Regions from separate parts of the Homo sapiens genome. Here region 2 is linked to region 1. Evidence: promoter capture Hi-C in human tissues and cell types (Jung and others, 2019). All regions are on one chromosome and are shown on one strand. Each heading gives the region's core, a stretch centred on a gene start or on the middle of the fragment in contact. The rest is flanking DNA. Distances are from core to core; before and after follow the strand shown. Region 1 holds the start of INPP5B (inositol polyphosphate-5-phosphatase B). Region 2 holds the start of GJA9 (gap junction protein alpha 9).

Region 1 (2,927 bases), core at 295-2,794:
CCCTCCTCGCCAGGCTTTGACACTAGAGCAGGGCTGGAATTGGGGTTCCTCTGCTTCCCTGCAGTGACCCCACCCCTTGATCCTAAGGGTCTGAGTCAATCCCCTTTCCCCTCATCGTCCACATGACTTAGACACTGAATTCAAATAAACTTGAGCTCCATTTGTGCTGTGGATGTTTCCAGGAAAAGAAATGGATTGAGAAGAAGGCAACGACTGTTTCTGGAAGGGGTTTACATATGCAAAGTTGAACTGGTCATTAGGATGGCCACTTCACTTGGGGAAAGAGGAAGGGAAACTGTTCACAAGTCACAACAGTCACCCCCTCCCCAGCACTGAAGGCCCATTCCTTCAGTTTGGGCCAAAGCTTGAGAGAAGGTGTATTTATTAAAATAGTTCAGAAAGTAATTCACTAACTCCATAGATAACTGTGTGCCAGAAACTGCTGGTATGTTGATGAAAAGGCATAGTCCTGTCCAACGGGAGCTTACAGCTTAATTAAACAGCCAATAGGCCAAGTGAGAATGATCCTAGCATTCCTTATCTGAGCTGGGTGAGCAATCACAGCTCACTGCAGCCTTGAACTCCTGGGCTCAAGCAATCCTCCCACCTCAGCCTCCCAAGTAGCTGGGACTACAGGCATGCACCACCATACCCGGCTAAATTTAAAAAAATTTTTTTTTAGAGATGGGGTCTCAAACTCCTGGCCTCAAGCGATCCTCCCTCCTTGGCCTTCCAAAGTGCCGGGATTACAGACATGAGCCACTGTGCCCAGTCCCTGTGCTGGCTCTTTTTGTCCATCTTGGGTAACCTCCTTATCTTAGATGGGGAAATTGAGTCCCAAGGGAAGAAAGGTCTTGGCCAAGGTCACAAAGCCAGGCGGATCAGGGGAAGGACGTTGCCGGACAGGAACAGTGTCATACCCTTTATAAAGTGCGTTCACACCCAGTAGCCTCAAACAGCCCTGTGTGGCAGGAGGGCTGGGTGGGGCTAAGGGAGGAAATAGGGCAGTGTGTAGCGGTATAAATGGCCCAGGAGTTGCAGTCAGACTTTCAGTGGAGTCCCAGTGTTGCCACCTGCTAGCTGCAGGACTTAATGTCAAACTGCTTAACCTATCCAAGGCTCAGTTTCTCCACCTGGAAAATGGACATAATGGTTCTTCATAGTCTGGTTCTCCCTCCATTAAACCAGGAGAAGGTAGTTATTTTAGGGGAAGAGTTTCAGTAGAGGTCCGGGTTGTCTACCCTGGAGTGAGAAGAGCTGAGGATGGAACTAAGGAGAAAATAAAAATGCATTATATTCTTCCCCTAAGATAAAATGTGACCATCTTCCTTCTGGGTGGGAAGCTCTGGCCCCATGACCTAGAGGGCTGGGGATGGGAGTGAGGGCAATCATTAGAAAACCTTTCTGGTATAGGAAGCCCAGTGTACCCCAGGGCCTAAGGGGTTAACACGGATGGAGAGACTCCCCACCCCACGATTGACTCGGGCATGCTGGGACTTGCAGGCTGACTGACCACCATGTGGCGCAGGGGCTGTTGGGAAATGTAGTCACTGTCCCGGAACCTGGGGCAGCGGAGTCCCGTGCGCCCTGTGGTGACAGCTCAGGAGGTAGGTGACAATGTCAGGGAGCTGTGGGTGGGAGCAGAGCAGGAAAGCCAGGGCAGGGCTGGGCAGGAGGGAGTGGGCAAGCTGAGGGCTGGGACACCCCCCAACCCCCGGCCTGCAGCTGATGCAATGGGCCTGCTGGGGCGGGGGTGAAGGGCAAGCAGCAATGGGACACTTCCTGTCTCCAAGGAAAGAGGAATGGGACCCTCCTGAATGACAGTAAGGGGATGTTCCCTGAACCCCACATGGACACACCACTGACACCTCCCAGAGAGGCGCTAGCAGAACAAAAACTGTCCCCAAAAGAGAGGAAGAGCCATGTCCTAGGAGCAAAGGGACTAGGTCCCCTTCTCCAATCCACGTACCCCACTTCCAACAAGGATAGACCACACTCAAGAGCAACTGGATGCCCTCCCAGACAAAGGCAGTATAGCAAACTGTAGATCCCAGCGGGGCAAAGGGACTGGACCCCTATCCCTAAAAACTGAAAGGCCTATTCTAGGGAGGACAAAGAGGAGGAGGAGGAGGATCAGGCCTCCCCGGTACCATCTCCCTCTGCAAAGGCCCCTCCCTCCTGCCCCCAACCCCTCTGAGGCAGCTCCACCACCCCATGCGTAACTTGTTGACCAAAGCGGGGCTCCTATCTCCCCTCCCACAGGGTGTGTGCGCTCAGCAGGGGCCAGCATGGACCAGTCTGTGGCAATCCAGGAGACGCTGGCTGAGGGGGAATACTGCGTCATCATATCCTTCCTGTGCTAACTGCGGCCCTGAGCCTGCCCTGGCCTTGGGAAGAGGAATGGAAGGTGTCGAGGTGTCTATCCCCTCTCCTGCCCCTCTGAACCATCAGGGGAGAAGGAAATCAGTATTTACTAAGTACTTACTGAGTCCTGGACTCTCAGCCAAATGCTTTAAATACGCAGTTATCCTCCTAACTCCCTATGAAGTTGGGGATTATTATCCTCATTTCATAGATAAGGAAGGCTTAGAGAGCCTGTTTGTCTGTTAGTTCAGCACATGGTTTGAGTGCTCACCCAAGGCCACACAGTGAATCTGGGGGGGCAGGGGAACAGAGGGAAGGTGGGACAGCCTGGGTGGGGAGAGGCCTCGCCTCTGGGTTGTCTTCCCTTGACTCTGAGCCGCAGGCGGTGCAAGGTGTGCTGTGTGAGGGGGACAGCCGGCAGAGCCGCCTCCTGGGACTCGTGCGCTACCGCCTGGAGCACGGCGGCCAGGAACACGCGTGAGTGAGGGGCTTGGTCCCCACCTGTCTGGGCCATGGGGTTGTTCATCACTGCACCCTCCAGCTGAACTTCAACTGTCCCTCCA
Region 2 (2,927 bases), core at 221-2,720, 930 kb before region 1:
GTGATCCGCCTGTCTCAGCCTCCTCCCAAAGTGCTAGGATTATAGACATGAGCCCAGCCTCTAATTAGATATTTTTATGAAATGTAGGTTTTAACAGGATAAATGTGATACATGTATTGTTCTATAACTTGCTTTACAACATGACCTAGGGACCTTTCTCTATTAGTTCATAGAAATCTTTATTCTCTGAATTGCTGAATGATATAGATGTACCATAGATAACCATTCCTCTGTCAGACATTTAAATTATTGCTGCTTTTGTATAATTACCAACAGTGCTATGTGAACATCCTAGCATGTGCAGTGTGTCTCTGAATGTCTATGCTGAATGAATATTTCAAGTATCCAAAAGCAGAAATGCTATACTAATATTGATAGGTTTAAACTGCCTTTTAAATAGCTGTATCCATTTATATTCTTACCTACAGGATATGAGAGTAACAGTGTCTCCCTACTTTGCCAAAAGAAGGTATTATAAATCTTTAAAATTTTGCATTTTGATAGTTAAAAAATAATATTTCACTTAAATATGTATTCTCTGACTACCGAGGTTGAGGAAGTTTCGAGTTTATTAATAATTTATGAGTTACACATATGTAATTCAGATAACACATAATATAGAAACATGAATATATTGTGCATGTATGTGTGCCTATACAAATATATATATATATAAATAATATATATATAAAAATATATATGTAAATATATATATATATATATATATATATATATATATATATATATATATATATATTTGTCCCTGGTGAAATGTTTGTATTTAATCTGAGAAGTAGCTATTGTTGGCAAAAAAGCCCAGGGAAGAAGTATTTATCTGTTATGCTCAACCTGCCAGATCACTAGCTCTGAAGGGACCTTTAATGACCTAAAATACAATGTAATTGTTAATAACAGAACATGGGAGACAGAATCAGGATCTATCTATGAAATCGGACATGACCCATTTATTAAGGCAGATGACCAAGAAGTTATTATCTAGTAAGAAAGACTTTTTTGGTTCTAGAAACATGGTTTATTGCACAAAAAACAATGACATTTTATTAGGTTCCCCCAGTGGCAAAAGTTGCATACAAACAGCACACAAATACCTCCTGTCATTTTAAATTTGACATCTCTGAATTATGGAGGAATCATTCACTCAGCTTAATTTGGGGCTCATGACTTTAGTCTTCTAGATTGCAGTGTGTTATCAGGACTATTATAAGCATTCTTTATCTGTGCTGTCCAAAAAAGCAGCCATTAGGTAGATGCAGCTCTTTACATTTTTATTAAAATTATTTAAAATTAAAAATTCAATTGCTCTGACACACAAACCATAATGCAAGTGTTCAATAGCTACATTTGGCTACTGGCTGCCTTATTGGCTAGCACAGATAGAATATTTCCATTGTTGCAGAAAGTTCTATTGGATGGTGCTGTTTTAAAAGCAAGGATAAGCAGAAAGGGACATGGATTTTAGTTGATGGATGACTCACTCACTACATTCAACTGAACTGAATCTGCTCTATACCAGCAAAGGGACAAATTCAGAAAATAAATTGAAGATGGCCATGCTGTAACTTCTAAACATGGTTTGCTTCTCAGATTTACCTAAACTAAGAAAGGTTTGTGTTAATCTCTCTGTTTTAGCTTATTAAGAAAGAGTTGTTTGAAATGTTTTTATCTTTTTCTTTTGAATTCTATGGTACTGTATATATGTATACCAGTTTTTATGTCATTTGCTATGAAAGCTTTAATTTGTAGCTAAATACTACTGCTCCTTCTTTCAGGAAATACTATGTGTTGTCCTTTATGAAAAAAATATTTTCTTTCTTTTTATGATTATAAAAGTAAAATGCTTATAGTAAAAAATTAAAATACATGTAATTACAATATATTAAGTATATAATTTGTAATCCCAACATCCAGAGCTAATCACCGTTAATATTTTCATGAATATCCTTCTAGACTTTTTTGTATACATCTGTAAATGTAACTAAACTTATAATAATGGGGCCATATTATTCTATTTTATAACATCAATTTCACTGAAATGAAATATCAAATGCCATTTTATGTATGTTTATCATTTCTACTGGTTGCATAGTATCACACCGTGGATGTAGTCGATTATTTAACCAGTTTTTCTTGTATTATTATTTTATGTTTTTAGCTTATGACTATTATAAACAACATGAATTACATCTTTGCTTACATTATTATTATTTATGAACCATAAATGAGACTTAACTTGCTTACTTTTTTTTTATTTTTTGAGACAGAGTCTCACTCTATTGCCCAGGCTGGAATGCAGTGGCCAGATCTCGGCTCACTGCAACCTTCACCTCCCAGGTTCAAGCGATTCTCCTGCCTCAGTCTCCTGAGTAGCTGGGATTACAGGCATGTGCCACCATGCCCGGCTAATTTTTGTATTTTTAGTAGAGATGGGGTTCAACCATGTTGCTCAGGCTGGTCTCGAACTCCTGACCTCGTAATCCGCCCGCCTGTGCCTCCCAAAGTGCTGGGATTACAGGCGTGAGCCACCGCGCCTGGCCAACTTGCTTACATTTTAAAGTGCTTTGGGTTGTTGGGTCAGAGTATGCTATTATTATTATTATTATTATTATTATTATTATTATTATTTATTTTTTTTTGAGACAGAGTCTTGCTCTGTCGCCCAGGCTGGAGTGCAATGGTGTGATCTCGGCTCACTGCAACCTCTGCCTCTGGGTTCAAGTGATTCTTCTGCCTCAGCCTCCCGAGTAGCTGGGACTACAGGCGCCCGCCACCACGCCCGACTAATTTTTGTATTTTTAGTAGAGCAAGGGTTTCAACCATGTTGGCCAGGCTGGTCTCAAACTCCTGACCTCAAGTGATCCGCTGGCCTCGGCCTCCTAAAGTATTGGGATTACAGGCGTGAGCCACCG

What was found. The method cuts DNA at HindIII sites, captures the fragments that hold promoters and counts their contacts. A contact is called where the count stands out against the background at its distance.
Region 2: the fragment with the promoter of GJA9 here is called in contact with the fragment with the promoter of INPP5B in region 1 in 2 of the 25 tissues and cell types used here (dorsolateral prefrontal cortex and spleen).

What each region holds. Positions count from the first base shown.
Region 1 is chr1:37,945,670-37,948,596 of GRCh38, reverse strand. It overlaps INPP5B (inositol polyphosphate-5-phosphatase B), which reads left to right and starts at 1,544. Exons shown (of 24, transcript NM_005540.3): 1 at 1,544-1,607; 2 at 2,263-2,345; 3 at 2,747-2,841. The coding sequence starts at 2,289. It also overlaps a transcript of LOC105378651 not described here. RefSeq lists enhancers at 1,376-1,615, 1,193-1,722. The HindIII fragment of the contact is 19,061 bases long and covers 1-2,927 here.
Region 2 is chr1:38,880,130-38,883,056 of GRCh38, reverse strand. It overlaps GJA9 (gap junction protein alpha 9), which reads left to right and starts at 1,470. Exons shown (of 2, transcript NM_030772.5): 1 at 1,470-1,625. GJA9-MYCBP (GJA9-MYCBP readthrough) reads left to right here and starts at 1,431. Exons shown (of 3, transcript NR_037637.1): 1 at 1,431-1,625. The HindIII fragment of the contact is 16,120 bases long and covers 1-2,927 here.